Regions from separate parts of the Homo sapiens genome. Here regions 2, 3, 4 and 5 are each linked to region 1. The links are contacts of gene promoters, found by promoter capture Hi-C in blood cells and fetal thymus (Javierre and others, 2016). All regions are on one chromosome and are shown on one strand. Each heading gives the region's core, a stretch centred on a gene start or on the middle of the fragment in contact. The rest is flanking DNA. Distances are from core to core; before and after follow the strand shown. Region 1 holds the start of HSPA12A (heat shock protein family A (Hsp70) member 12A). Region 2 overlaps MIR3663HG (MIR3663 host gene). Region 3 has its middle 18 kb from the start of SLC18A2. Region 4 holds the start of VAX1 (ventral anterior homeobox 1). Region 5 has its middle 4.3 kb from the start of MIR3663HG.

The links. The method cuts DNA at HindIII sites, captures the fragments that hold promoters and counts their contacts. A CHiCAGO score of 5 or more calls a contact.
Region 2: a contact is called between a fragment that was not itself captured here and the fragment with the promoter of HSPA12A in region 1, in 2 of 17 cell types (naive CD8 T cells and monocytes). The highest score is 7.3, in naive CD8 T cells.
Region 3: a contact is called between a fragment that was not itself captured here and the fragment with the promoter of HSPA12A in region 1, in 1 of 17 cell types (naive CD8 T cells). The highest score is 5.4, in naive CD8 T cells.
Region 4: the fragment with the promoter of VAX1 here is called in contact with the fragment with the promoter of HSPA12A in region 1 in 3 of 17 cell types (M0 macrophages, endothelial precursors and monocytes); the score reaches 5.4 in M0 macrophages.
Region 5: a fragment that was not itself captured here is called in contact with the fragment with the promoter of HSPA12A in region 1 in 13 of 17 cell types (naive CD4 T cells, naive CD8 T cells, total CD8 T cells and 10 more); the score reaches 13.8 in naive CD4 T cells.

Annotation. Positions count from the first base shown.
Region 1 is chr10:116,740,985-116,746,109 of GRCh38, reverse strand. HSPA12A (heat shock protein family A (Hsp70) member 12A) reads left to right here and starts at 3,544. Exons shown (of 12, transcript NM_025015.3): 1 at 3,544-3,680. The coding sequence starts at 3,641. RefSeq lists enhancers at 2,271-2,974, 2,975-3,679 and a silencer at 3,230-3,679. The HindIII fragment of the contact is 20,528 bases long and covers 1-5,125 here.
Region 2 is chr10:117,153,864-117,158,805 of GRCh38, reverse strand. All of the region lies in intron 2 of MIR3663HG (MIR3663 host gene), which reads left to right. Among named protein-coding and RNA genes, the nearest start is that of MIR3663, 11 kb to the left of the region's middle. The HindIII fragment of the contact is 292 bases long and covers 1,884-2,175 here.
Region 3 is chr10:117,220,133-117,225,366 of GRCh38, reverse strand. No RefSeq gene overlaps it. Among named protein-coding and RNA genes, the nearest start is that of SLC18A2, 18 kb to the left of the region's middle. RefSeq lists an enhancer at 2,165-2,665. The HindIII fragment of the contact is 182 bases long and covers 2,095-2,276 here.
Region 4 is chr10:117,135,167-117,140,534 of GRCh38, reverse strand. VAX1 (ventral anterior homeobox 1) reads left to right here and starts at 2,265. Exons shown (of 3, transcript NM_001112704.2): 1 at 2,265-2,719; 2 at 3,876-4,063. The coding sequence starts at 2,479. RefSeq lists enhancers at 1-95, 96-682. The HindIII fragment of the contact is 11,137 bases long and covers 1-5,368 here.
Region 5 is chr10:117,170,531-117,176,145 of GRCh38, reverse strand. No RefSeq gene overlaps it. Among named protein-coding and RNA genes, the nearest start is that of MIR3663HG, 4.3 kb to the right of the region's middle. RefSeq lists an enhancer at 848-1,027. The HindIII fragment of the contact is 6,412 bases long and covers 1-5,615 here.

The DNA of each region.
Region 1 (5,125 bases), core at 2,295-4,794:
TGAAGCTGAGGAGGCTGTTTTCCATCAATGTTTTGCTCTCTGCGCCAGGCACCATCCTAGGGTCTGGGGGCTCTAAATGTGGACATGGCTGGTCCCACTTTGGAGAGCTGGCAGCTAGAGGGGGAGGTGGGTGACCTGAAGCTGGAGAGACCTGAGTTCTGGTCTCAGAGGTCTAGTCTCAGCACTGCAGCTTCTGAGCTCAGTGACCTTTCTGTATCTCAGTTTGGTCATCTGTACAATGGGGTTAACAATACTACTGACCTTGGAGTTGTTGTGATAAGTGCTAAGATAGGAGTGATGGGGGGTTGGGCACAGAGGAGAGAGGAGGGGCCTCATGTGATCTTGGAGGGCTAGGTGGTGTCCTGGAGGAAGTGCCATCCAAGCTGAGGCCTGTAGGAAGAGACAGGGTTGGTTACCTGGCAAAACTAGAGGAGAATCGGCTTCCAGTGGAGGCACTGGCTCTTTGGGGACCTGAGGGCAGGCCCTTGAAGCTGGAGTGACCAGCAGGAAGGGAACTAGAAGGTGGTCACTTGGCTCTGGGCTGGGCCACTTTTTAGGACTTGAGTATCCAACCGAGATGTGTAACATTCTCTCCACCAGCTACCACAGTCTACAGCCTGTGGAGGGTGTGGAGGGTGGAGAAGAGATGGTATAGAGGGTGCTGCAGTGTACCCACAGAGAGCACTGTGAGGAGGAGTCTTTGGAGGGGAGCTTGAGGGAACTTGGTACAGAGCAACCTCCCAGGAGTCTGGGCGTGCCCTGAGACAGCTGGGGCTGTGGAAAGGCATGAGCCCTGGGGGTCAGCAGAATGTCTGTGTGCTGGGCTGTGTTCCCGCTTCACTTACTGATTCAGCCAGTCAAGCATCAAGGATTTATTAAGTGCCTGCCATGTACCAGGCGCTGTTCTAGACACAGAGATGCAGAACTGGCAACACAGTCCACGATCTTGCTCTCCTGGGACTTACTTCCCAGTGGGGGCGAGGCAGCAGTTTTAGATAGAGTGTTCTGGGAGGAGCAAGCCACGTGATTGATTCTCTTGAAGGATGTGTCCGGGGGAGTGACCCCCCAGGTGGGGCCTGTGTGTGTTTGGGCTTTGGGGGGAATGGGAGAGTGGAAGGAGCTGAGGTCACTGAGGCATCAGGAGGCCAATTTGTGTAGGACCTGGTAGCAGGAGAATGACATGCTCTCTCTCTGGCTGCTATTGGGGAAGAAGACTCCAGGGAGGAAGGTGGGAACCCTTCCTTGATGTGGCGTGCTGAGCCTTGAACCCCAGCCTTGCTGCTGATGGCCAGAGGATGCCTGAACAGGTGCCTCAGCCTTTGAATGCTTCCTTTTCCTCTCCTGCAAAACCGCAAGGGCCACCATGAGAACTAGGTGAGACCACAACAGCCCCTCGCTGGCGGGCTGGATGGTGTGCTCAGCAGGGCGCGTTGTAATTAGTGTGATGAGCATGAAGGCCGTGAGGGCAAATCCCAGGCAGAGTGTGCGCTGCCTTTCATGCTCCCCTGCAAATCAAAAGTGTTCTGCTCTCTGCCCCCAGCACTGGGGCCTGCATGTCACCTCCCATCCTTCTCACGCACCCTCATGTCACTGTGGCTGGGAGTCCCATGAGGGCACGTGGCGCCCAAGGCCCTTCCACAGCAGGAGGCAGATGTGCAGGGGCTACGGGTTTCTGCTGCTTCTGACAGGCTGTCAAGGCCAATGTCCTGATGCCCTGGTCTGATGGGGAGGAACGAGTGCCTTGAGGACACTGAGGAGGGCCCCCCTGGCCAGCATGGGTATGCAGGGGAGCCTTCCTGGAGTTGGGCAGTCCATGATGAGAAGGAGAAGTTCTTAGGTTGCTGGTGGTGGTGAAATGAGAGGACGGGTGATCCAGGCATCAAGCACATTTTCATGTCTTTGAAATACCAGCATAAGAGAAGCAGGGGTGGGTGAGAGGGATTGAAGAATCAGAGCGGCTGTAGCTGGAGCTGGAGTAGGGTGGGGACAGACCAGATCACAAAGCATGGACTGAAGGGGTGAGACAGGAGGGCGGGGGAGCTGTGGGCAGGCTGTCGCAGGCACGTAGGCAGGAAGGGCCCTCGGGGGCCATCAGTGACTTAATGATTTTTACCATGTGCTAGATCCCAAGCTAAGCATGTTACATGCATAGTCTATCTAATCTTCAGTTTTATGAAGTGGGTTCTCCTGTTATACCCATTTCGCAGATGAGAATATTGAGGCTCAGATAGGTTAAATAACTTGACTGTGGTTTCATGCACAGCCAGGAACTGTCCATTTGGGATTTTTAATGCAGGCAGACAGAAGACAAGTTTTGTGTTTTGAACTTGTCACTCTGCCATCACCTTCTGGTCTCCAGGCTCTCGCAGCAGCTCTCTGCCCATTCCGTCATCCATAACGCTCTCGCAGCAGCTCTCTGCCCACTCCGTCATCCAGAACGGGATTGTACGATGAAGCCTCCCCTAGGTGATCTTTGGGAAATGCCACCCATCTCTGGAAGTGAGGGATGCTGGTGGTTACAGCTGGGTGGGAATCCCAGCTCCGCGACTCACCTGCTGGGTGTGATATTGTAACCCTGCCGATCCTCAGCTTCCTTATCTGCAAAATGTTAGTTATGGGGAGGAAAGGAGATAGAGGTAAAGCACCAGGCAGGTAGCACAGTGCCAGGCACCCGGAAACGACCCAGTGACGGTGCTCCTCGGATTCCTATTACTGCCCTCGTTTGCCAAGGCAGGGTGGTGACACCGCGGACCCAGGGGGTGCCTGGCCAGGCCCAAACAGGTGCCAGCGGCGCGTGTGTGTGGAGGAGCTGGGGACAGGGAGTATGAATCATTCACAACTGAAGCCTTGCATTATTAATATCGTTATTCTCAGACTTCTAAGGAGGGCCCAGCTGGATCCCATATATGGAAGGCGCGACTCAGCCTCCGGGGCAAGCACCTCCCTGGGTCCGGAGTTGCCATGGAGTCCCGCAGGCGGCCTGGAGGCGGTGCCCCGGGCTCGGCCCCCGCGCAGGTCCTTGGTCTGCGGCCTGGGTCCTGCCCGCGCCGGGGTCCACCCAGCCCGCCTTTGCGCCGGCCCAGGGCCGCTCCCCTGGGACCCTGGGGGACAGACAGAAGCTGGTGGGGACTGGCGCGGGCGTCCTCGGGAGAGCGCCGGGCGCGCTGGGCTTGCTGAAGGGCTCCAGGCCTGGCCATTCGGTGACTTCCAAAGAGGGGACGCGCCGCGGGGCCCCGAGGGCCTGAAATCCGCTCCCGCAGCGCAGCCCCGGGCGCGCCACTACCCCCGCCGCGGTCGACTGCGGGGCGACCGCTCGGTCCCGAAGCCGGGAGAGGAGAGGCCGGGCCTCGGCGGGCCGCTCTGGGCGGGCGGGGAGCGCAGCTCCGGAGCCAGGCAGTTCCCCGCGCCCGCCTTCCCCGACCTTTCCCGGCCGGCCCGAGCTCGGAGGGGCGGGGCGCCGGGCGGGCCGGGGCGGGGCCCGGGGAGGAGCCGTGGCTGCGGCGGCTGCCGCGTCAGAGCAGCGCTCCCGCTGCCCGGCGGCTCAGACACGGCCCGAGCGCCGCCGCGGACGCGGACAGAGACCCGCACGGGCACGGGCGCTGCGCTGGAGGCTCCCCTCGCGGTCCGGGGCTGCGCGACCATGGCGGACAAGGAGGCCGGCGGCAGCGACGGGCCCCGAGGTGAGCGCAGGCTGCGGGTCCTGCGGCCGCGGCTGGCGGGGCAGGGAGGGAGGAGGCGCGCTTGGCCCAACGCTCCGCACCCCCTCGCGCGCCGTGGAAAAGTGGGGACGCCCGCGCTGCATCCAGTTCTGGCGGGCGGGGCCGGGGTCAGCAGCAGCGGGGCCGGGGGCCGGGGTCCGGTGGACCGGAGACGGCCCGCGGGTCACATGTTCTGCGCCCCGCCAGGGTGCGGACTCCGCGGCGGGGACTGCAGCCCCCGCTGAGGCGCCTGGTTGGTCCCTGCCTCGGGTGGCGCCTCCTGCGGGGCTGGTCGCGCGTGCGGGTGAGGACCGCCCCGCGTGTGCAGCCCCCGCGCGATGGGCTGCGGAGGCCGGCGCTGGCTGGGTAAAGGGCCCGCCGCCGGGTGGCCGGGTGGCCCCAGCGGGTAATTTTCGTGACTCAGCGAGGCAGGAGTGGGAGCCTGGGGGAAATCGGAGATTTGGACCTGTTCCCTCGCCCCATCCCACCCCGGCCGGACGCTCGAGCCAGGAGTGGGGGCTGCAGCTGCGGCCGAAGGGCTTCTCACCCACCTCCCCGCCCATCCCCAGGGACTCACTGGGCTGGGGAAGGGTGAAGCGGCGGGGGTTCGATGGTCCCTTCCTTGCGGGGGGCAGGGGGAGGCACCCAGTGCGGAGGACAGACGCTCGCATTTTGCAGATGTGCTAGGGCCGCTTTCTTTGGGGAGCGTGATTAGGGCTCCGAAGGGTGGGGGAGCCGGAGAGGACGGGGAAGGGGGTTGCGGGAAGAGGACGAGCAGGTTTCGGAGCCCAGGGCTGTAAATCAAGGCTTCTCCCACGGAGGGCCCGGCTGGCCAGGATTCCAGTCTTCCTGTGGGTCCCAAGTGGGGAAAGTTGGGCGCATGGAGGCGCCGCGCGTCCCTGACCTGCAGGGCCTCGGCGAGAGCGGCCGCCGGGGAGAGGAGCGCGGCCCAGGCATCTTTCCCGGGAGCGACAGGCAAGCCGCCTGCGAGGATGATATTAAAATGCCGGGACGCAAGGGAGATTCAGCCACGAAACGAGCGCTTGGCTCTGCGGGGCCCCAAAAGCTGGAGAAACTGAGTCCAGTGGCAGCACAGCCACCATCTGCGCTGGGTTCCCTGTCTTGCTGTCGGGCCTGCGGCCCCCACCCTCTGCTGCACTCCAAGCCGCACCTGCCCCCACCCCAGCCCATTGTTCCTGCGGATCAGGGAGGTGCCTCCCCACGCGGCACTGCAGTGGTGGGGGAGTGCAGGGTGGCGGGTGGGGGATCCTGACAGGGCTCACTCCAGGGAGAGGCAGCGGAGAGCCCAGGCCGTCCCCAAACACACACCCAGTCCCCGCCTGTACTCTTCCTCAGCTGGTGAACGCAGGCAATGGACTGGCAGCTGTCTTTGTCTGAACATCACTCAGCAACTGGATTGACTCTTT
Region 2 (4,942 bases), core at 780-3,279, 410 kb before region 1:
TTGTCCTTGGACTCAAGGCAAACTAATGGTTAGCATCACTCCAGTTGTTGCTATCATTTTATTACTCATATGTAGCTATGAGTAACTTGAGAAACTGAAATGTAACTGCTGCATATAATAAAAAATCAATGGCCAAGACTGGCTACCTGAGGAGACTGAGTCCCATGCTAATGAGGCTAAGATTTTATACTGATTTTGTTTTGCTCTGAGATGGTAATCTAATAACCCCCGTCTCCAGCAGCTCGGTGGCTGAATTGGTGGAAACCTATCCTCAGATGGCTAGTGGAGAAACAGTTCAGAGCCCAGATCATGCTGGAGAGCAGGAGAGCCTTGGTGAAAGATGAAATGGCAAAATGCTTAAGAGTTGGGGATCAGGAGGCAGACACACCCACATTTGAAGCCTGGCTCCCCCATTTGCTCTCTAGGTGATAGAGCAAGTTACTAACCACTCTGAGCTTCTGTTATTTCTAAGAGTAGAAGAAATAAAAGGAATAGTGCCCCATTATTTGTAAGAAAGTGTGAATGACAAGGTGCATGTAAAGCATTCCACAGTCAATATTAGCGATTGTCACTATTATTTGTGTATACAATAAACAGCACTGCCCATGGAAGGCTCTAACTCTAGAGTCCTTCCCAACCCTGTCTCTATCACTTGAAAGAATATCCACTCTGTGAGTGTTGTGCTTACACATTTTGTTCCTAGAGCCCAGCCGACTTACTGTCATGCTCGAGGGAAGCTTCATTTAGTTGATCTGTTTGGGTTATACATTTATGGATTTATTCCACAAATCACAGTGGTCTTCACAGTCATGATGATTCTTCTTTATGAAAAATAGTTGAGAAAGCTAGAATATATTTTTAAGCCCTACTTGGGAACCTACAAGCAGAAATTAACTGGCATATTACTGTGTTCCATTTAAGTCTAAGAGGTTGAAATCATTAAGGCCAACACGTTTTATTTTTCCTTAAGGATATCAGACATGTGACAAAAAAAGCTTTCATAAGGAATGCCTGAAATAGGGGAGAAGTTCTTACAATGGCTTGTAAGAAGTTCTCATTTCCCTACTGATGGATTGGGAGGCTCAGAGAAGTCTATGGAACAAAAGAGATCCACTCCAGCTTTGAGTGAGACAAAATTTTTAAGGTCATGGCTGTTTTTTTTTTTTTTTTTTTTTTTTTGAGAGAGAGAGTTTCACTCTTGTTGCCCAGGCTAGAGTGCAATGGTGTGATCTCGGCTCACCACAACCTCTGCCTCCCGGGTTCAAGCAATTCTCCTGCCTCAGCCTCCCAAGTAGCTAAGATTACAGGCATGTGCCACCACACCCGGCTAATTTTGCATTTTTACTACAGACGGGATTTCTCCATGTTGGTCAGGCTGGTCTCAAACTCCTGACCTCAGGTGACCCGCCCGCCTCGGCCTCCCAAAGTGCTGGGATTACAGGCATGAGCCACCGCGCCCAGCCGTAGATCATGGCTGTCTTTAATACCATTTCCTTAAAGTTCCCTAGTCCTAAATGTGTGAATTCTGAAATATTCTTAAAGGGTCATGCTTTTGATGGCATTACATTGGTTTTTTGTGATATGATCCCATTACACATCATGATGTCATGGTGTATGATGTGTTTGCAGAAAGTCCAGGATTATGGCAACAAGTGAACCGGATAACCCTTCTGCTTTCTTACAGCTCTTCCGAAAACTTCCTTGTTTTGCCTTTTCAAACATCAGGGGCGTGACTTATAACAGCCAAATTTTGCCAGCATGCTGTGTCATGGGTTCCAGTCCGTGGAGCTCCGTCATACTCTGTTGGGCATCCTGTGTCTTATTCCTCTCTTTAGGTCCAGTTTCTACATACCTTATCTGTGTTATCTCAGGCTTCAGAAGCTTCTCCGTAACGTGGGCTACTTTCCCCTCATCACTGGGTATTTATTTATTTATTTTTACTGAAGCCTGAGCCCTGTAACGTTACCACACTGGCCACAGCTTCAGGAGAGAGATCACTGCTCTCAAGAACTTACAGTCTAGTGATGGATACAAAGGTACATGAAAAAATAACTAGCAATGGAAAACAAAGCATGAAATGCGATGAAACGTGGTCAGGATGCTAAGTGCTATGACATATCACACTCGGAACCTCACTTTGCTCATATGAAAAGCTGGAGAGAATCTTCCCAAGCTTAGCACATCCTCATAGGATTTTGGTGAAAATCAGATGAGATGGTAGGTATGGAAGATTTCTGTCAACTACAAGTCAATTACGCCAAAAAATTAAGAGGTCTTGTCAAATCATAAAATTAACAGAATTATTATTAAACCTTAAGAGGGCACTTGAGATAATAAATGCCAGATTTAGTAGCATGGTAGTATCATTCTATCTGGGGTGGGGGCAGGAGGGAGGGAGTGCCATAGGAATGGGTACACAGAGGGCCTTCAATTCCATTGGTGTGCTGTGTGTCTTATGCTCAGTGGTGGTTATACAAATGTTTGTCATCTCATTCTATAAATTTTGGTGGATATTAAATATTATAACATATATAGTTTGGTTATTGAGGTTTTTTGTTTGTTTGTTTTTGTTTTGAGATAGAGTCTTGTTCTGTTGTCTAGGCTGGAGAGCAGTGGCACAATCTTGGCTCACTGCAACCTCCACCTCCCAGGTTCAAGCAATCCTCCTACCTCAGCCTCCTAAGTAGCTGGGATTACAGATGCCCGCCACCATGCCCAGCTAATTTTTTATTTTTACTAGAGACGAGGTTTCACCATGTTGGCTAGACTGGTCTCCAACTCTTGACCTCAAGTGATCCGCCCACCTCAGTTTCCCAAAGTGCTGGGATTACAGGCGTGAGCCACCGTGCCCGGCCAGTTATTGAGTTTTAGAAGTCTCATTTTCGGGATGAGGAACTGAGATCTAGACAGAGAAATGCTTGCCTAGAATCAAACAGCCTCTTAGTAGCTAAGCTAGTGCCTAGATCTTAATTGTTTCCACTCCCCCTCAATGTGTATTTCCTTTGTCCTCTGTAGATCTTGCAGTCATCCTGGATTCCCCTTTCCCTCATACTCAATCCAACAGCAGGTCCTGCCATGTCTACCTTCTAGCTATGGGCTGCATCTGCGCACTTCTGCCCCTTGCCTGTGCATCAGGACATTCCCCAGCCGCCCTTGACTGAGGGTGGAAGGGGAAGCGTAGAGTCAGGCAGGGCTATGGTACAGGTTTCCTGGTTGGGTCTAAACTGAAGGAGCATTGTATTTATTCAGATGGAAAACATAAGGAACCAGCACATCTGTTATGTGTACTTTCATGAGACATTTATGTAGTTATATTTGAAAGTACTCTAACAGTATCATGTGTTCTTTAAAAAAAAATTTTTTTTTTGAGATAAGGCCTTGCTCTCTCACCCAGGATGGAGCGTGGTAGTGCAACTGTAGCTCTCAGCAGCCTCAAGCTCCTGGGCTCAAGTGATCCTCCAGCCTCGGCCTTTTGAGTAACTAGGATTGCAGGTGTGCAACACTACGTGCAGCTATTTTTTAAATTTTTTATAGAGACAGGGGTCTTACTACATTGCCCAGGCTGATTTGGAACTCCTGGCTCCAAGCGATCCTCCTTTCTCTCCCTCCCAAAGTGCTGGATTACAGGCATGAGCTGGTGCTCAGCCTGAAGTGTTGTTTATAAATACATATGTGCATGGGGAGGTGTTTAGACATGGTTCTGCAGCCATTGGAAGAAAGGCACCTGCTTCTCTCCTATGCTCATCTTTGAATGCCAGGATTGAGTTCCACATCTTCAAAGTTGCCATGGGCACAGTCTGGCTCTCACCCCGGCCAGCGCTTTCTTTCTTCTGACCTCCTTCCCCACAGGCAGCCTGGACCACAAAGTTTAGCCCTCAGGAATGTCTTGATTCATTTGACATTTCAGTGGAAGATTAGAAGTATCCCGCACTAGGAGCACATATGGCAGGTGAGGTCCCATCCTGCAACCCAGGAGGCTCTGTGCTCCCTGAGAGTGGGTTTCAGCACATTATGTGGCAGGTAGGTGCTCCTTAAATATTTGCTGGGTGAACGAACGAAGAGCCTCCTCACTGGGGTCCCTATTTGCACTCTTACATTGCTATGAGGTATCTTTACACTGCTACAGGGGTCTTTTAAAAGCATTGATCAGATCGCAAACTCTTGTGGCTGCCCATTGCTCTTAGAATAAATATAAACTCCCTCTCGTAGCCTACGAAGCCATTCTATGGCCTGTTGCCTGCTTCCTTTCCAAGCTCTTCTTTCACTCTCTCCTTGACTCAGCCAAAGGAGCCTTCCTCGGTTCCTCTAATATGCTACACATTCCTGCCTCAAGGCCCTTGCCCTTGTCTTTGTTCTGCCTGGGAATCTCTTTCCCTGGTTCTGCACATGCTTGGCCAAAACAGTCCCAGTCACACATTCTATGACCTTGTAGCACTTAACACTGTCTGAATTATCCAGCTGATTGATGTGTTTACCTGTTCCTTGCCTGCTGCTACCCTCTCCCTCTAGACTTAAATTCCTAAGCCAGGCACGGTGGCTCACGCCTGTAATCCCTGCACTTTGGGAGGCTGAGGTGGGCGGATCACTTGAGGTCAGGAGCTCGAGACCAGCCTGGTTAACATGGTGAAACCCTTTTTCTACTAAAAATACAAAAAAGTTAGCCAGGTATGGTGGTGCATGCCTGTAATCCCAGCTACTCAGGAGGCTGAAGCAGGAGAATCACTTGAACCTTGGAGGCAGAGGTTGCAATGAGCTGAGATTGTGCCACTGCACTTCAGCCTGGGAGACAGAGGGAGACTCCGTCTCAAAAAAAAAAAAAAAAGTCCTTAAGAACAAAGCCAATGTTTGCCTTTTTCACTGCTATGTCTCCAGCCATTTAACCTAAGAGTGGCAATTCTTAGTTGCTCAGTAAATGAATGAATGAAAAAAAAGTCATTCCACA
Region 3 (5,234 bases), core at 936-3,435, 480 kb before region 1:
ACGCTTACATTGATCTGGTCCCCAGGCCACACTTTCATTTTTGCTAGTTTGAAATCTACAGTGGGGAGAGAAGGCTGAGGGAGTGAGCAGGGGAAGAGATGCTTTTTCACACCAGCACTCCATCTGGAACGCCAGGAGGCCCTCTCCAACACACCCTCAAAGCCTGGCCAGAGTAGGCTTGGTGGGTGCCAACCAACCTAGGCCTCTGATCCCTGTACTCATGGCAGGATCCTGCTGGTCCCCAGGCAGCAGGTGGGGATGTCAACAGGTGGGGAAAGAGCATTTCCAGTCCCTCTAACTTCTAGGGAGGCTGAGTCCCCATCAGCAAATCTTAGCTTAGGGCCTACCATGTGCTGGCCTCGGTGCCTGTCACTATGGGCATCGATAGTGGAGGCCATGGCCCTGCATATATGGGGTTGACACTCTAGCTGGGCAAGGGCCCAGTGGCATGTGCAGTTAAGCCAGCAAGAACATCTTTTTTTTTTTTTGAGACAGAGTCTCACTCTGTCGCTCAGGATGGAGTGCAATGGCGTGATCTCGGCCCACTGCCACCTCTGCCTCCCAGGTTCAAGTGATTCTCCTGCCTCAGCCTCCCAAGTAGCTGGGATTACAGGTGCATGCCCCCACACCTGGCTAATTTTTATACTTTTAGTAGAGATGGGGTTTCACCATGTTGGCCAAGCTGGTCTCTAGCTCCTGACCTCAGATAATCTGCTTGCCTCAGCCTCTCAAAGTGCTGGGATTACAGGTGTGAGCCACCACGCCCAGCCAAGAACACTTTTCTTTATTTCTGAAAGGAGGCAACAGTAATACGGCAATGACAGACATATCCATTGCCCACTTTAAAGAGACAGGTGTTCGGCCCCTTCTTGGTATGACTGCAGCCAAAACCAAGGGTCAGCTGAAGACTGCACAGTGCATGCAATGTGTGGTCAAGTAAGAGCCAAGCTCTGGAGAAAAACTTTCTCATTTGGATCCCTTTCTTGTTTTACCACTTACTGAGTAGGGGACTGCGAGCAAGTCACTTCACATCTCAGCCCTGGGGATCATAATAGCACCTCCCTTGTATGTCTTGTGATGATTAAAAGATGTAAGGACCATAGCAAAGTGACTGGCACAGAGCAAAGGATGTTCTGACTCATCTCCCCTCCTATCCAGGCTCCTCCTTGCCCAGGTCTTTTCCCAGGTGAATGGTGACTCCTTTCAGGTTCAGACCCGGGCTCAGCTTTCCAGCCCAGCACCAGCGGGCTCCAGAAGGCCTTCTAGATCCTGTAGTCCTGCCACATAATTAAGGCTCATTTTGAGCCATCTGCTGTTCATGCATTCATTTTTGTTGATCACCTATTATGTGCCAGAAGTTGTGCTAGGCTCTGAGGTCACAGTGGTGAATCAATCAGTCATCCTGCCTCGTGGAACTAACACTGCATGGGGGCTGGGCACTAATCGACATGCAATTAGAGCTGGAAAAAATCCCTCGTTCAAGTCCACAGAGCTCCGCCATACTCTGGGGGCAAGAGAGAGGCTTCCATGTAGGGGGTGGGACATTAAAGCCATGGAGAGGGGGTCATCCCCTGGCAGGGGTAGGTGGGGTGGACCTGAAGAGGGAGAAACACAGCTCAGAACAAACAGCTCAGGCTCAAAGAGGATGGGAGTGGACTCAAAGGAGGGGTGCAAAGAGGGAATTTTGAGGCCTTGGGTTCTGAGCAAAATGGGGCTGGCATCTTCAGGCCACCTGAAGGCCAAGGGCATCAGTATCCACCCACCACAGAAGGCCAGGAGCCAGCCATCTTGCAGTCAGCCCAGCTGTCCAGTCTCCTGGAAGGCCATCTGTGTGTGGTCCTCACTGTCCTGGGATTCCTCCATGATTCTGGAGAATGGGGGCCATTCACCTCTTAGATGGGTGAGTTAACAGAGGGCCTGAAGGGCCTTGTGGAATGCAGTGGAAGACACAGCCTTGGCTCCTAAGGTGCCTCTGATCTCTGTGTAGGCCCCATGACAACAAGAGAAGAGAACAAAATTCCAACAGCCCCCAGGGTGGGCGGCTTCAGACAGCTCAGGGTGTTTTGATACAAGCTGCTCTGCAGCCCCGAAGCTTTCCTTGCTCTTTGCATGAATTTAGCCTTCAGGGAGAGAAGGAATGTGCATCCCAAAGAAACAAACACAAGACAGCTCAGCCTAGGGGAGAGTGACAGCTGGGACCTGGAGCAGGCCCAGGCAGCAGGCGGCACATGACAGTTGTCTGATTTGGCTGTGTCAATAAGTGCTTTGCTGAAGCTTTCAAAACAAAAGATTATCCATAAAATGCACGGTCCCACTTCTTGTTTCCCTGCCCAGACATTGTATGTGGCTTTTGGAAAAGAGTCAGGATGTCTTTGTCATCAGAGCCTGGTGTCCCTCAGTCACCTGTTGAGAAGGAAGGAGGGAGGGTGCTGAGAAGGGAGGGAAAGGTGGCAGAGGGCTGGCCCACTGGGCTGCCACTAGCTTCTCCCACCTGCATTTCAGGGAATAAGGAAGACCAACCGGTACCTCACCTAACATCCCTTCAACAAGCCTCACGCTTGAAGAACACACAGCCCAGCTGGAGAGAGAGGCCAGGACCCCACATCATCACAGAGTGGGTGCATCAAGAGCAGCTGGGGCAGGGGCATCCCGGAAAAGGGCATCGTCCCTGAAGGCTGCTGGCCCTGAAGGAGCTCTGGGAGCAAGGGGTGATGGTGGGGCCTTGAGGCCCAGGTAGGATCCGGAGTGTGAGAGGGAAGATGCCTTTGGAAATGAAGCCCTTGGTCACCTCAGTGAGAAACATGGCAGGATTTGCTCTCTTGTTGCATTATTTAAAATGAAGGCAGATGTCAATCATCTCAGGCAGGTTTACATCCTAAATGCAACTGACCCGGTCCCGTATATCAGCCCCCTTGTTGTGGCCTAGCAGCCCAGAGAACCTACAGTCCTCTTAGCTGGCAACATCACAGAACATTCCACCTGGAAAAACCTTAGGGAATCCTTGGTCAGTGGTGTTCAGTTCTACCCCACCCTTTCTGTCTTTAATTATGGACTTCTGTATTCAAACAAAACATTATAAGAAGCCAAATATAAAACATAGCAAAGCAAAGCTACTCAGACCAAATCAGGGATAAGAGACTCCGATCTGCCCATGGGTTTCAGAAAACGCCACATGAAAATGCCTGGGCTACTTCCACTGGCTTATACACTGGAGAAACTGAGGCACAGAGCGACAGTCCTGACCATACACTATGTGAGAGCAAAGACCTGGTTGGTCTTATAGCACACTGCATCCCCAGCATCCACCTCAGTCAGTCCTGGCACATATAGATGCCCAATAAATATCGGTTGGACAGATACAGATTAGTTGGATCAACATACATTTTTTGCATAAATAAATATTTGTTGGAAGAGACACACAGGCAATGCTGACGGCCTTTGCACAGTCATCTCTGTTTTTCTACAAATGCAACTACTTTTTGAAGAGGCTAAAGGAGGGACTTGCCTCTGAGACAGGGTCTGTAATTGCCTATGTTTGGAATGTACAGCATTTGAAAGGTTTTAATTTCCTGATCTAATGACAAGAATAAAAGCAGAGGAGTAGAGGGCCAGGGAGGATGAAAAGGAGCCACAATTTGCATCCAAGATGGAAGTGCCCTTTGTTGTCCCACATCCAAGTCAACTTCAAAGTTTTCTGCTGCATGGAGATGCACATCAGTCACCATGGCAACCACCAATCTGCCCAGGCTACTCGACCCTGGCCAGCCCTCTGCCAGCCATAGCATGTGCCTGGCTTTCAGAGAGCCAGGTGGGGCAGAGAACACAGGGGCTGCCGCTCAACCTCGCCAGCCTCCACCCAGCACGTCTTATTGGCTCTCAGTCTGTGGGGAGAGGGGTCTGGGTCAGCACCTCGATTGGCTGCACTGTCATCCTGCAAGCATGCATTAGTAGCCACCAGGTGCCTGTGCATCGGGTCACTCCTTAGAGATAACACTCCCGTGTCTGGCACTAGTCGCTGAACAAAGGCCTGTGAATGAGTCAATGAATGAAATCATAACCAGAGTCCCCTGGGAGCTTCTAAAATAAACAAATGCCCAGCTCCACCACCTGAAACTGGCTGCATCAGCATCTCTGGGAGGTACAGGCAAGACTGGGGGGCTACAGTTGCACACGCGCCCCTCAAGTTAGAGCAGGAGGAGAAAGCTGAATGGAGACAGTCCGGGTGGGGCTGCTGGAGCTGCCACTCACGGAGATGGCAGGAGGGGCGCTTGCTTTGGGATGTGTCGGGTTAGAGGTGCCCAGGAGGAGTTTGGGAGTCCGGAGTTCTGGGGAGAACTCAGGGAGGGAGGCAGCCTTTTTATCCACCAGAGTGATGAGACCATGGTGAGGGTGCAGAGACAGATGTATTCACCCATTTTCACGCTGCTGATAAAGACATACCCGAGACTAGGCAATTTGTAAAGAAAAAGAGATTTAATGGACTCACAGGTCTAAGTGGCGGGGGCGGCCTCACAATCATGGCAGAAGGCAAGAGAGAGAATGAGAACCAAGCGAAAGGGGTTTCTCCTTATAAAACCATCTGATCTCATGAGACTTATTCACTATCACTAGAACAGTATAGGGGAAACTGCCCCCATGATTCAATCATCTCCCAGCGGGTCCCTCCTACATCACGTGGGAATTATGAGAGCTACAATTCAAGAGGAGATTTGGGTGGGGACACAGTCGAACCATATCAATGAGCAAGAGACCGAGTATCCAAGGTATAAGCCATGGAACACACGGGCCAACAAGGAGGGGTAGGTGAGGGAGATGAGAGTGAGCACCAGGCAAATGTGGTGCCTGGGAAGCCAGGAGAATGTGACAAGCACAGGCTGGGGAAGAAAGATAGTCATGCCCAGAGCATCAAGGCAGGAGCTGCAGAAGAAAGTCTCCCATCCAACATGTGGTGACTGCCGGCTGCTGTGGGTGCCCCACCTGGGTGGGGGCTGCCTAGACTACCTCTGCCCAAAGACTGGGGCCTCAGTGGTGGCCACACTGAGCATATCTTGCAAACCCCTCCTAAGTCCACCAGGCCTGAGGTTCTTACCTTGAAATTTACCTCTTCTTCCTCCATCAAAGGCAATGAGCTGAGTGCTGGAGAAAGCTGAGCCATCCCATTATCTGCCTCCTAAACAGTAATGGGGGCCAGGTGCAGTGGCTCACACCTGTAATCCCAGCACATTGGAAGGCTG
Region 4 (5,368 bases), core at 1,016-3,515, 400 kb before region 1:
CGCACCCCTCCCTGCCCAAGGAGGCCCAGGAGCTCCCTCGGGCCGAGCTCTGCAGGGAAGTGAATGCCCCATCTGCTGCAGGGACCCCCATCAGGAGGACCCGAATCCCAGGGACCCGCACCCGCGACGCGGTAGTGGGAGTCAAGACCCGGCGGCTGCACCCCCGACGGCTTGGCCGCATGGGAGCAAAGCCCTCGGTGCCTCAAGGCGCCAGTCTGGGCTTTTGAGCGTTGCGGGAGGTAACAGGAGAGTTCGCCGGATTTTAACACAATCCCACTCTACATCTTCAGAACAGGGTGGCCGCAAAGTCCCTTACCCCTCTTACCCGTCTCTGCTCCCACCCGCCTCACCAACCCGCCGGAGCAGAGCTCGTAATCAAAGGCACTTTCCCCGGGCGCCCAGTCGGCGTCGGACTTCGAGGGCAGCGTGCGCAGCGAAGCCGGGCTGAGGGGCGATCAGCCCGCTGGGGACCCTGGAAACCCGCCGCCCTGCGGAGAGTAGCTCGGGACAGTTCCACCGCTCCGCCCAGTCAACTAAAGTGGAAGCCTGATGTCGGCCTGCAGGGCCAGAGATGCCCTCCGGAGCTGGGCCAAACCTGGGTGCCCCTAAGTGGCTGGAGGGGTGGCTGGGTGGACAGCGCGAAAGACCCCGCTCAGGGGGCCCCCTCCTGGCTTGGGACGGTAGAGGGGTCCCGCGGGGTGGCGGCGGAGGCAGGGGAGGTGGCGGCGGGGCGGGAGGTGCGGACGGTGCGCGCGTCGCTGCGAGCTGGAGCCCCTAGGGGCCCGCCACACACACTCGCACCCCTCCCCCTCCCGGCCTTCCTCCCACCCGCTCGCCGCGACCCCCTCCCCAACCCCCTCCCCTCCCCCCGCCTCCGCCCCATTCTTGGAATTGTGTGGAAAAATTCTCAGCCAAACCTCCCACCTCTCCTCTCCCCCCACCCACCCCCTTTAAAAAACCCCTTTCCTCCCCGGCCCCTGCACTCTTTGTGAATGAGGGCAGGGAACACGGCCCTTCCCCCGCCCAGGAGCCACGCCAGACCGCCGCACTCAGAGGACTGTTTGTTAATAGTCCAATTAGATAATTGCCATCTTTCACTCCTTTTGCTCCGCATTTCCCATAAAGGAATGAATGGGGAGAGCGGCGTGGAGAGGGCTTCTGCCCCGGCAAGGTGACGAGAAGGGCTGGAGCATGCTCCTTGCACAAGGCCATGCGCTTGAATTGAATCATTGTAGCCTAATCAATGCTCTTATTGGATTACTGGCTGTTGCTTTTCTCAAAGATATTGTAGCAGAGACAATGAAATAGCTAGGGGAAAACTTTTTTTTTTTTTTTTTGAAGCAGATCTCACAGTTGAGATTTCTCGGCCGTCTCTCCCTCTCCCCCTCTCTCTCCTGCTGGACTCTGAGTACAAAGCTGCCCTTTGAATGGGCTGCCTCAGGGCTGCTGGAGGTGCAGGCATGAAAAAATCCAACTGGAACTAAATGAAGAGAGGTGGCAGTTTAAGATGGCTGTCTGCGTCGAGGTGTGTTAAGAAGGAGTTGTTTAGGGGAAAATCTTGGCTTTTTTAGAGTGCAAGGGAGATACTTTTTGGGAAAACTTTCTCCCCCCGCTCTGTCCCCCATCCCCCACTCCCAGACAACTGCTTTCTTCTGCCGCAGGGTGCGCAGGGTTTTTTTTTTCTCCCCCCACACCCCCCCGCCGCCCAACCCTCATTCAGCTCTATCTGGCGAGTGTGGAGAAAACCCCTCTAGCCAGTATGTGAGCAGGAGGGTCAAAGGCAAAAGGAAAGTTAATAATGCCTGCTAATGGTACTAACAATTCAGGATGAATCTTGTCAAAAGTTTTTCTGGAAGTGTGGGTCTTTGATTGTGTGTTTCCTGAAAGCAAGACCAATCATTTCCGTTTATTCACTGGCTAAACCCCTACTTGATTGGGGACAAGGACAGAAACCATCCATTACGATCTGATATATTATCCAAACAATTTAGTGTATTCATGAGGTAACCGAAACGTGGGGGCTGCGAAATTACCCGTAATCAATTGCAACAGCGAGTGTGCGTCCCCCCGGGTGTCGGACAACTACAACTCGCCGTCTCAGAAACAGGCGGGAGCCGCAGCATTTCGGAGTTGCGCTGTTCGCTACCTGATCGCCAGGCTGGGGACACTGGACGTGCTCAGAGGACGCGGGTGCTGACGAGGCGGCCTCGCCGCAGCTCCACCAGGATCCTGGACCAGACTGGCCGCCTCTCGGCGAGCGCGCCACTCTCCCGTCGCCGCTGACCCGCGCGCGGCCGCCGAAGCCTCCCCGCGGGGACATTCATTCTTGCCCCTTGCCTGTCGCCGGGCCGGGCGTACGGGCCGCGTTGTCGGGGGTTTTGTCCCCTTTTTCCTCTTTTTTTTTTCCTTCTCCGCCCCCCCCCCTTTTTTTTTTTTTTGCTTTTTTTTTCCTTTCTGTTTTTGTTGTTGTTCTTGCCTATGTTCGGGAAACCAGACAAAATGGACGTTCGATGCCACTCGGACGCCGAGGCTGCCCGGGTCTCGAAGAACGCGCACAAGGAGAGTCGGGAGAGCAAGGGCGCGGAGGGGAACCTCCCAGCCGCCTTCCTCAAGGAGCCGCAGGGCGCCTTCTCAGCGTCGGGCGCTGCTGAGGATTGTAACAAAAGTAAATCCAATTCCGCAGCGGACCCGGATTACTGCCGCCGGATCCTGGTCCGAGGTAGGGATGGGCAGGGCTGCCAGGCGCGTTCTTTGGGGTCGACTCCGGGGCCGGAGCTGCGCGCTGCCGCCGACACAGGCCGGTGGGAAGGAGTGCCGGCTGGGACTTGGGAGAAAGTTGTTGGCCCTCCCCGCCCCGAGTCCGGCTGGGGACAAGCGCCTGGGACTCTCCGGTGCGCTCTCCAGGGGCCTCGGCCCTCCACGCCCGGAGGGGCCCCGCTGACCGGGCTGCGGGGGGAGATGAGGGGCTGCGCGGGTGCGGCCGGGCATCGGGCTGCGGCCTCCGACCCGGGAAAGGAGCAGAAAACTCCGGGAGGAGGTGTGCGCGCTCCAAGGGCCGGACGACCTGCCGGGAGCCGGCCAGGGGACTCCCGCGCTCTGGAGGGCTGAGCGCACCCAAGGGGGAACGCGAGCCCCGGAGAACAGCTGCCGATCGCGGGCTACGGCCCTGCCAGTTAGTGCACTGGGCCGAGGACCCCACGGCCGCGATCGGTGCCCGACCGCTGCCGCCGGGAGAGGCAGCTGGGCTTGGTTACGGAGCCGCGGTTGCCGCTTTGGTGCTCTGCTCTGCCGCTCTCGGATGGCGCGGCGTGCACTTAGCCCCGGCGGCGGAGGCTGCGAGGCCGGGCCCCGGCCCGGCGCCGCCCCAGCCAGCAGCAGATCTCCGGGCCCGGCCGGCCCCGACTCAGTCCCTCCTCCTTCCGCCGCGCGGACTCCGGAGGGAAGGAGACTCGAGGGTGGGGGTGGGGACGTCTGGATCACGGTCTGGTCGGCAAGCCCAGAGCTGGGGCCCGCAGGACCCGGGCGGGGCGACAAGGGTACCCTCAGGCTACAGGGGACCCGGAAGGCTCAGCCGAGGCCCCCCCAGGCCGGAAGAAACGTCCGCCTATGTGGAATTGATTGGATTTTTTTCTCTCCCCTGTCTGGAGGACTCTACAAAAAGACAAAGTGTGGTCCCTCCTTCGGTCAGCGGTATGGAGTTAGGCCCCTTGCCCTCCACACAGTGTCTTTGCTACCTGGTTGTGGTCGCGCTCCGCACCCCGCCCCCCATCCCCAAAACTGCACGCTTCTGGGGACTGTGTCCCCAAATCCAGCTCGGGCCAAGGAGGTGGAGGGGGACGGGAGGGTTCTGGCGGCTGACATCTCCCCTTCCCCAGATGCCAAGGGGTCCATCCGAGAGATCATCCTGCCCAAGGGCCTGGACTTGGACCGGCCTAAGAGGACGCGCACGTCCTTCACCGCGGAGCAGCTCTATCGGCTGGAGATGGAGTTCCAGCGCTGCCAGTACGTGGTGGGCCGCGAGAGGACCGAGCTCGCCCGGCAGCTTAACCTCTCCGAGACCCAGGTACCCGGCGACCAGGCCGCACACAGTTCTGCACCAGCCTTCCTCCCCACCACCCCTACCTAGCCTGCTCTTCACCTCCTAACCTGCTCTGGACAGAACTACCCTTGGGAGGTGGAGGAGATGGGAAGGATGGGTAAGACAGGCCTAAGGATTCCTTCCCCTAGATAATACATCCTTTCCCCCCACCATTCCTGCCATCCCCAAATCCTCCAGGGCCCATGTTTTATCCACCTTGGCCTAGGCCCAGAAGGCCCCAAATCCTGTCCTTTTGGAATTTTTATTGTCCCCCGGTTTTGAGCATTTCCTTCGAGCTTCTGCTCTACAAAGAACTGACTTTTGCCCTTGTTTGGGGTACCCCATTTTGGCTAGATTTCTAGGCCCCACCCCTTGTGGGCCCACCCAGCTGTACTCAGCGTCCAGGCCCATTCTACAGGAGTGAGGCTAGATCTAACACCCCCTGCCCCAGCACCATGGGTGATTCCCAGGAATTAGGTGTACGCCCTCCTGGAGATCTGCCTGTGCAGATCAGGCTGCCCTGACCCTTAAAGGAAGGCTTTCCCCATTCTGAGCTGGCCCCAGCCCTGAGCACCTAGGAGACCCTGTCTTCTGGGCCAGTGATGTGTGAGGTGTGTGATGGGAAGGAGATCTAGGACCCAGAAGCCAGTACTGCTGATTGTGCTTTAGATCTTTCCCTTTACATTAAATCCATATGATGCCCCTTGGAGCTGGCCATGTGGGCTCTGGGCCCAGGAGAGGACCCAAGAACTTGCCAAGTGGCATGTCACCAGCTTGGCCTAGCTACGGCAGCCTTCTTTCTGAAGACTGATCCTTTTCCCCATGCCCAACCCTGAAGCAGGTGGAGAGCATTTTAGGTCCGGGATCTGGGCTGAAAGCTGAGGACTGACAGAACAGATAGGGGTGTTCTTTTTGAGTTTGAGTTGGTATGGTAGCTTTTTCTATTCTCTCTGCTACTACTCCTCTTAGTTTATAAAATCTAGATAGGATAGTCTTTGCCTATTGCTGCAAAACTCTTCTGGGCCACTGCTAGGCCTGCAGAGGGGCAGAAGAATGAGAGGGGAGGTTAGTGGGGAATATTCAATCCACCTCAGCCTCCTGACTTTCTCCCATGATTCCAAGTTCATGACTCAGACCAGTGGAGAGATAAACTAAGAGTATCACCAGACCCTTCAATGCAGCTATCTGGTGAGAAGAGGTGCAGAAATCTCGGTCTACATAAAGTCTCCCGCACATATTATTCTCCTGCAGCCACTTTCCCTGCTTGCTGCTAGCTAATGGTCACGTCTT
Region 5 (5,615 bases), core at 1,867-4,366, 430 kb before region 1:
AGATGAGTTGCCGCAAGGGGGCAGTGGTGTCCAGGCGATGACCTCCCATGTTGCGCAAATTCGTAGAAATACTGAGTTTCAGATTCTCGAGTTTCTCTCGTTGAAAGCGGTAGCAATTATCCCCAGTCCACTTAACAAGCCAACAGCCATTTAGAAAATATGTATGTATATTAAAGAAAATACTGGATCTGGAAAAAGATCTTTCGAAAACATCATGTCCAACCAGGGTTATTATACAGAAACTGGGTTGAGAGAGGGCAGTAATTGGCCCAGAGCCACGGAGCCAGGCCTGGAACCCAGGTCTCGTATATTCACGTCCCATGCTCTCGGTGCTGCAGCCTCCTGCTCCCCTGAGCCTTTCTCCGGCGTTCAGCACAAGCCATGCCTGCGTGGTGACATGAGCACCTGTCTTTGTTGTTCCTACAGCACAGTTCCCGTCCCATTTCACCGCTGCCTCCAAATTCCCACCCCAGCTGCGCCACGTCTCTCAAGCAGAGCTGGCGATCCGAGAGCAGTGACTGGGGACGAGTGTCCACGCGGGGCTGACGAACTGTCAAAGCCGCCACCATCTGTCAAGACCTATGAGGACGCACACAGCACGGGCAGGCGGGCAGGAGAAGTGGCGGACGCAGTCGGCCACCCAGCATCAGCTCCGGAGGCGCGCTGCTTCACCTGGTGACCTGTCCCCGGCCTACGGGTCTCCAGGAAGCACTCCAGTCCCTGCCAGATGCTAGCGGGAAGGCAGGAGGGGGCGCCGTCCCAGCACCCCGGAAGCTGCCAATCTGCTTGCGGGGCTGAGACCGATCTAGGAAAGGGTAAGCAAAGATGCACGCGCCTGGGCGGCACGCAGCGGATTTCCAAGTCGTCTGCACAGATCATTGACCCCGCAGGACACGTGCGCATGTTGGCAGGGCCGACTCCGGAGGAATTCCAACTCTTCTGAATCTGCCACCTTGCAGAGGGGACAGCTGACCCTTCGCCCCATCTCTGAAAGGGCCAAGGATCTTTCCTCTCATTGCTTCCTACTGAATGCCCAGGATGCCTCGGTGTTGCCTACCTTCCGCAAAATCCTCAGGGCTGGATCGTTTTCGGAAACTGCCACCAGAGGGAGCTCCAACAATAGAGCTGGATTTTGCTTCCTCCCAGCTCATAAAGGAAGTCGGGGGCGGGGGAAATGCTGTTCTCTGCCACCAGCAGGTGCAAAGATCAGTTTAAAACGCCCAAGATTGTAACTTCACTACTAATTCGTGAAAAGCATATGGTGGAATAATGCTGGATCTGCAGAGTGACAGAATAGCTGTCCTCCACCGTGAGTTTCCCTCATTTCAGACTCAAATACTTCAGACCCAAATGATCTCCAAATCAGAACTCCTGCCTCTGCATTCAGTCTGTAGTGTTCTCTCCAGAGGACTGAATCCTAGCACCCTCGCTCCCCTCCCCTCCTCTGCCAGGCTTTACAGCCTCCGGAACTGCCCTTTCAACCAGAACAGAGCCCAGACTGTCACCTCGAACATCAGAGGAGTCCCAGCCCCATTCCTGAGTGCCCCTCTTCCCCCAGCTGCCCTGTGAACAGTGATAAGAGCTGTGACTGTGTTCTCCAGGCACTGAAATTAAAGTCAGAACCACTCCGGCTATAGATTCCATGTGCCGCTTCTTACTGCAGACCCTCATCTCGGTTTGGGATGGGGATGTGGGCAGTGTGTTTTGCTGCCAGGATGAAGTGGTTCAATTCTCCTAGAAGGAGATGCAGCAGTCACGTCCAAAAGCATGACAAAGCCCACCTAAGATGACCTGTATCTTAGAATAGTCTGAATTCATGAGGCTTCCGTCCTCATGTGAATATGTCACTAGCACTTGTTCCTTCTTCTGGGGGTATACTCAGCCAGCAATTTCCTTCTTTAAGTTTGGAGACAGTTGTAAAGAGGGGAGAACCCTTGGGCTCATGGGCCTTTAGTTTTCATGCAAAATCTAAGACCTCACCTAGTGGGGGAGGCAGAGAGAATTGGCCCTGACTTTCAGGTTTGGGGGTTCAGCACAGATCACTGTTGTGGGATCCAGACATTCCTGCACCCAGGAGATGTGCAAGGACAAGCATGAGAAAAACTGCATCTGGCCAGGCACAGTGGCTCACGCCTGTAATCCCAGCACTGTGGGAGGCCAAGGCAGGTGGATCACCTGATGTCAGGAGTTCAAGACCAGCCTGGCCAACATGGTGAAACCCCGTCTCCACTAAAAATACAAAAATTAGCCAAGCATAGTAGCACATGTTTGTAATCCCAGCTACTCAGAGGTTGAGGCAGCAGAATTGCTTGAACCTGGTGGAGGTTGCAGTGAGCCGAGATCGCACCACTGCACTCCAGCCTAAGCAACAGAGCCTTGGGGGAGAAAAAAAAGAAAAACAATGTATCTGAGGCGTGCGTGACTACTGGGTAACGGCAGCCATTCCTGGGGATGTCTGGAAAGGCTTCAGAGGGCAGGCAGACCTGAGTTCCTCCTGCCCTCTACCAAGAGATGACTGCAGCCTCCAGCCTGGCCTGCACTGGCAGGCACCTTCAAGAGGGACGACAGGACCAACAGGGAGCTGCTGCTGTCCCCCAGGCCTCCCCTGCTCAGGTCTCATTTGCCATTCATGACTTGTAGCTGAGATGGGTGGAAGGCGCCCTCTGAGGCATCTGGGTTCAAAACTCTGAATGAAGAGAGCACTTGCATTCTCTTTCTTCTCATGCATGGTCAAAAATGCAGACTCTGTCCAAGATGGTGCACACTCAGGGTTTTGGTTCAGGGATGATCAAGCCCCTTCATCAGTGATTTTCATCCTCATGTCAGCTAGTGCCTCCTCTGAAATGGCCTAGAGCCTTCATGCCATTGCCTCTGCCTTCCCCAGCATCCCCATTTCACAGGGCAGCTTGAGGAAGAGGGGCAATGAGGAACAGGGCTGAGACTCCTCTGATGTTTGTGGTGACAGTCTGGCTCGGTTCTAGTTGGAAGGGCAGTTCCTGAGGCTGTTAGTTCCAGACCAGCCTGGCCAACATGGCAAAACCCCGTTTCTACTAAAAATATAAAAAGTAGCCGGGTGTGGGGGTGCACACCTGTAATCCCAGCTACTCAGGAGGCTGAGGCAGGAGAACTGCTTGAACCCAGGAAGCAGAGATTGCAGTGAGCCAAGATAGCGCCACTGCACTCCAGCCTGGGGACAGAGTGAGACTCCGAAAATAAAAATAAAAATAAAAATGTGCACATTCTGTTATTCATGTGTGCATTTTAAAAAAAATGGCCTTATCAAGGATGAGGGTTTTGGCATTTGTGCAAAGCCTGAGGTTTTAGGAAAATGTCGTTGATGAACTGACGCTGGCAAGACTCTCCATTTACAGTAACCTGTGACTAGAAATGTCTCACGTTGGGAGAAAAATGAGGAATCCGGGAGAATAAGTGTCATGGTGGGTTTATGTGGGGCATTTTCTTCTTTGTCCAACACCTCAGATCTGCAACCAAACCAGCAAAAGCTAGTACGTCTCAGGAAAAACTTCTGCTTGTTACCGAGCTTCCTGGAAAATTGCATTTGGAGAGCTATGAAGGCTTGGCTGTGAGTAATTTGTTTTTTAAATAGCTCTGTTAGTTGGTCCACATTGTGTTTTTCATTCCACCAGAGCCGAAGGTGGTGTTTCTTTTGTTTATGGTATTAGTGTTATATTATTGGTGATCTCATTGTTCTTGTTTGTGACATGTTTACCTCAGTAGGACAGTTATTGTAGGAGGGAAGTCGGGAGCCAGTCTACCCACCAAACCTGCAGAACTAAAGAAAAAGACTCCAATCTGTCCCGCAGGGTGCATATTACTCCTTTCTTGGATTGTTAAATTCTAATTATAGGCTGTTGATCCCCATTAGAACCATTTGTAAGCCTAAACACTGTTGTGCAGCATCTTTTGCCAATAGGTGTGTTTCATTCCAATCGTTGTATAAAACATAACATTCGTGCTTTTGGGGGACTACAACAGGTTAGTGTTCTCTGGCAAAGTTGGACAAGAAATAGTCAAAATATGACTCAAAACTAAGATAGTGCAAACAAAAGTACACTTTGCCTTGATGTTTATTTATTAGGGATTTCTGAAACCCTAGGACACTAGAGCTCACCTTTCAGATCTCAGACCTCAGATGCCACATCGTCAAGGAAGCTCTCCTGGACTGCCCACTTCCACATTCCTGGGACAGCAGAGATCTCCCCCAGCCCTGCCTGGCACTTGACACAGTGGATCATTTCACAGGACTGGGGGATTAGTTAACTGTCTTTCCACTAGATGGAAAGTTTCAGAGGAATCCTGTCGGGATTACCGATGCCTAGTATGATGCTTAGCACACAGTAGGCATTTAATAAATGTGTTGTGTAGTGCCTGTGTACTGTTTTATTTGGGAATCTTCAGAAGGTAAGAAAAGCAAATGGATACATTCATAATAAGTATGAGATGTGGAGAGCAAGCAAGTCCGTAGATTATAAGACGTAAGCAAAATTCATAGTATGTGTTAAGTAGAAGAGGGGATGAATAAGATGGAGCTGTGAGACTCAGGAAGAACTCACAGAATTCACATGGATAATGAGTAAATCAATAACCTGTGGGAGATGTTGAAGACAGATACAATAAGTGGAACATATAATAGAACAAACCAGAGTGCTATGGACCAATAGAGAGACATTAAAAGACCAAGTTGTAAGATACATTCATGCTACATCAGGGCTGACAGCTATCTGATTCCCAAAATCAGCCACTCATCCATCGGTGACACCCATTATGGTCCCAGTTGTGTTCTGCCCAAGAAGCACAGATAAACAGAGAGAGCTGTTCAGGAGGCTAATGGATGCTCCTGCTGTGGCCAGGAGAACTTGCCCCTGGCTCTCCAATAGCAAAAGCGTGTATCGTTGCCTCGGGCACCTTCTTTCTGTTGGGTCCCTTCACTCATCCTCAATTATGGTCCTTGTAACCACATCATTAAGAAAGAAAGTTAATATGGGTGGGAGGGATATGGGTGGGAGGCAATATGTGAACATTGCATATTAAATGGCCCAGGATTCAGGAAGGGGACTTCCCACCTGCTTCTGTGGTATATGTGTTAACCTACCCCATCTCTTTCCTCTTGCTTCTCATTGTGTGTTTAAAATTTATTCAACAATCTGTATGATTCAAGTATCTTAACTAGATCTTTCTATTGTATTACCTCCAGAATAGTTTGCCTGGTAGCGCAATAGTTTGCCTGGAGATTAATTTCCTATACAACATATTGAAATAGTGCATTGTGAATTGGCTACTATGACTGCTGATTAGGGTGAGGGTTAGGGTTAAACCAGTTTCTGAATCTAGCTACTCCCCCCTACCATAAAAACCACTTGCATTCAACAATTAGCCATTGCATTAAGTGCTAAAGATACAATGATGAGAAAACAGCCATGATTCCTGCCCTCATGAAGTTTAGAACAGAAGAAAGACTATCTGGTAATCACACAAATAAGTAACAAATAAATCTAACGTTTTAACCAGTGATAAACCCTCTGAAGAGAAAGTGCACTGAGGTCCTCTGAGAGCATATGCCAGGGGAATTTGACCCATTCAGAGAGGGTTAATTA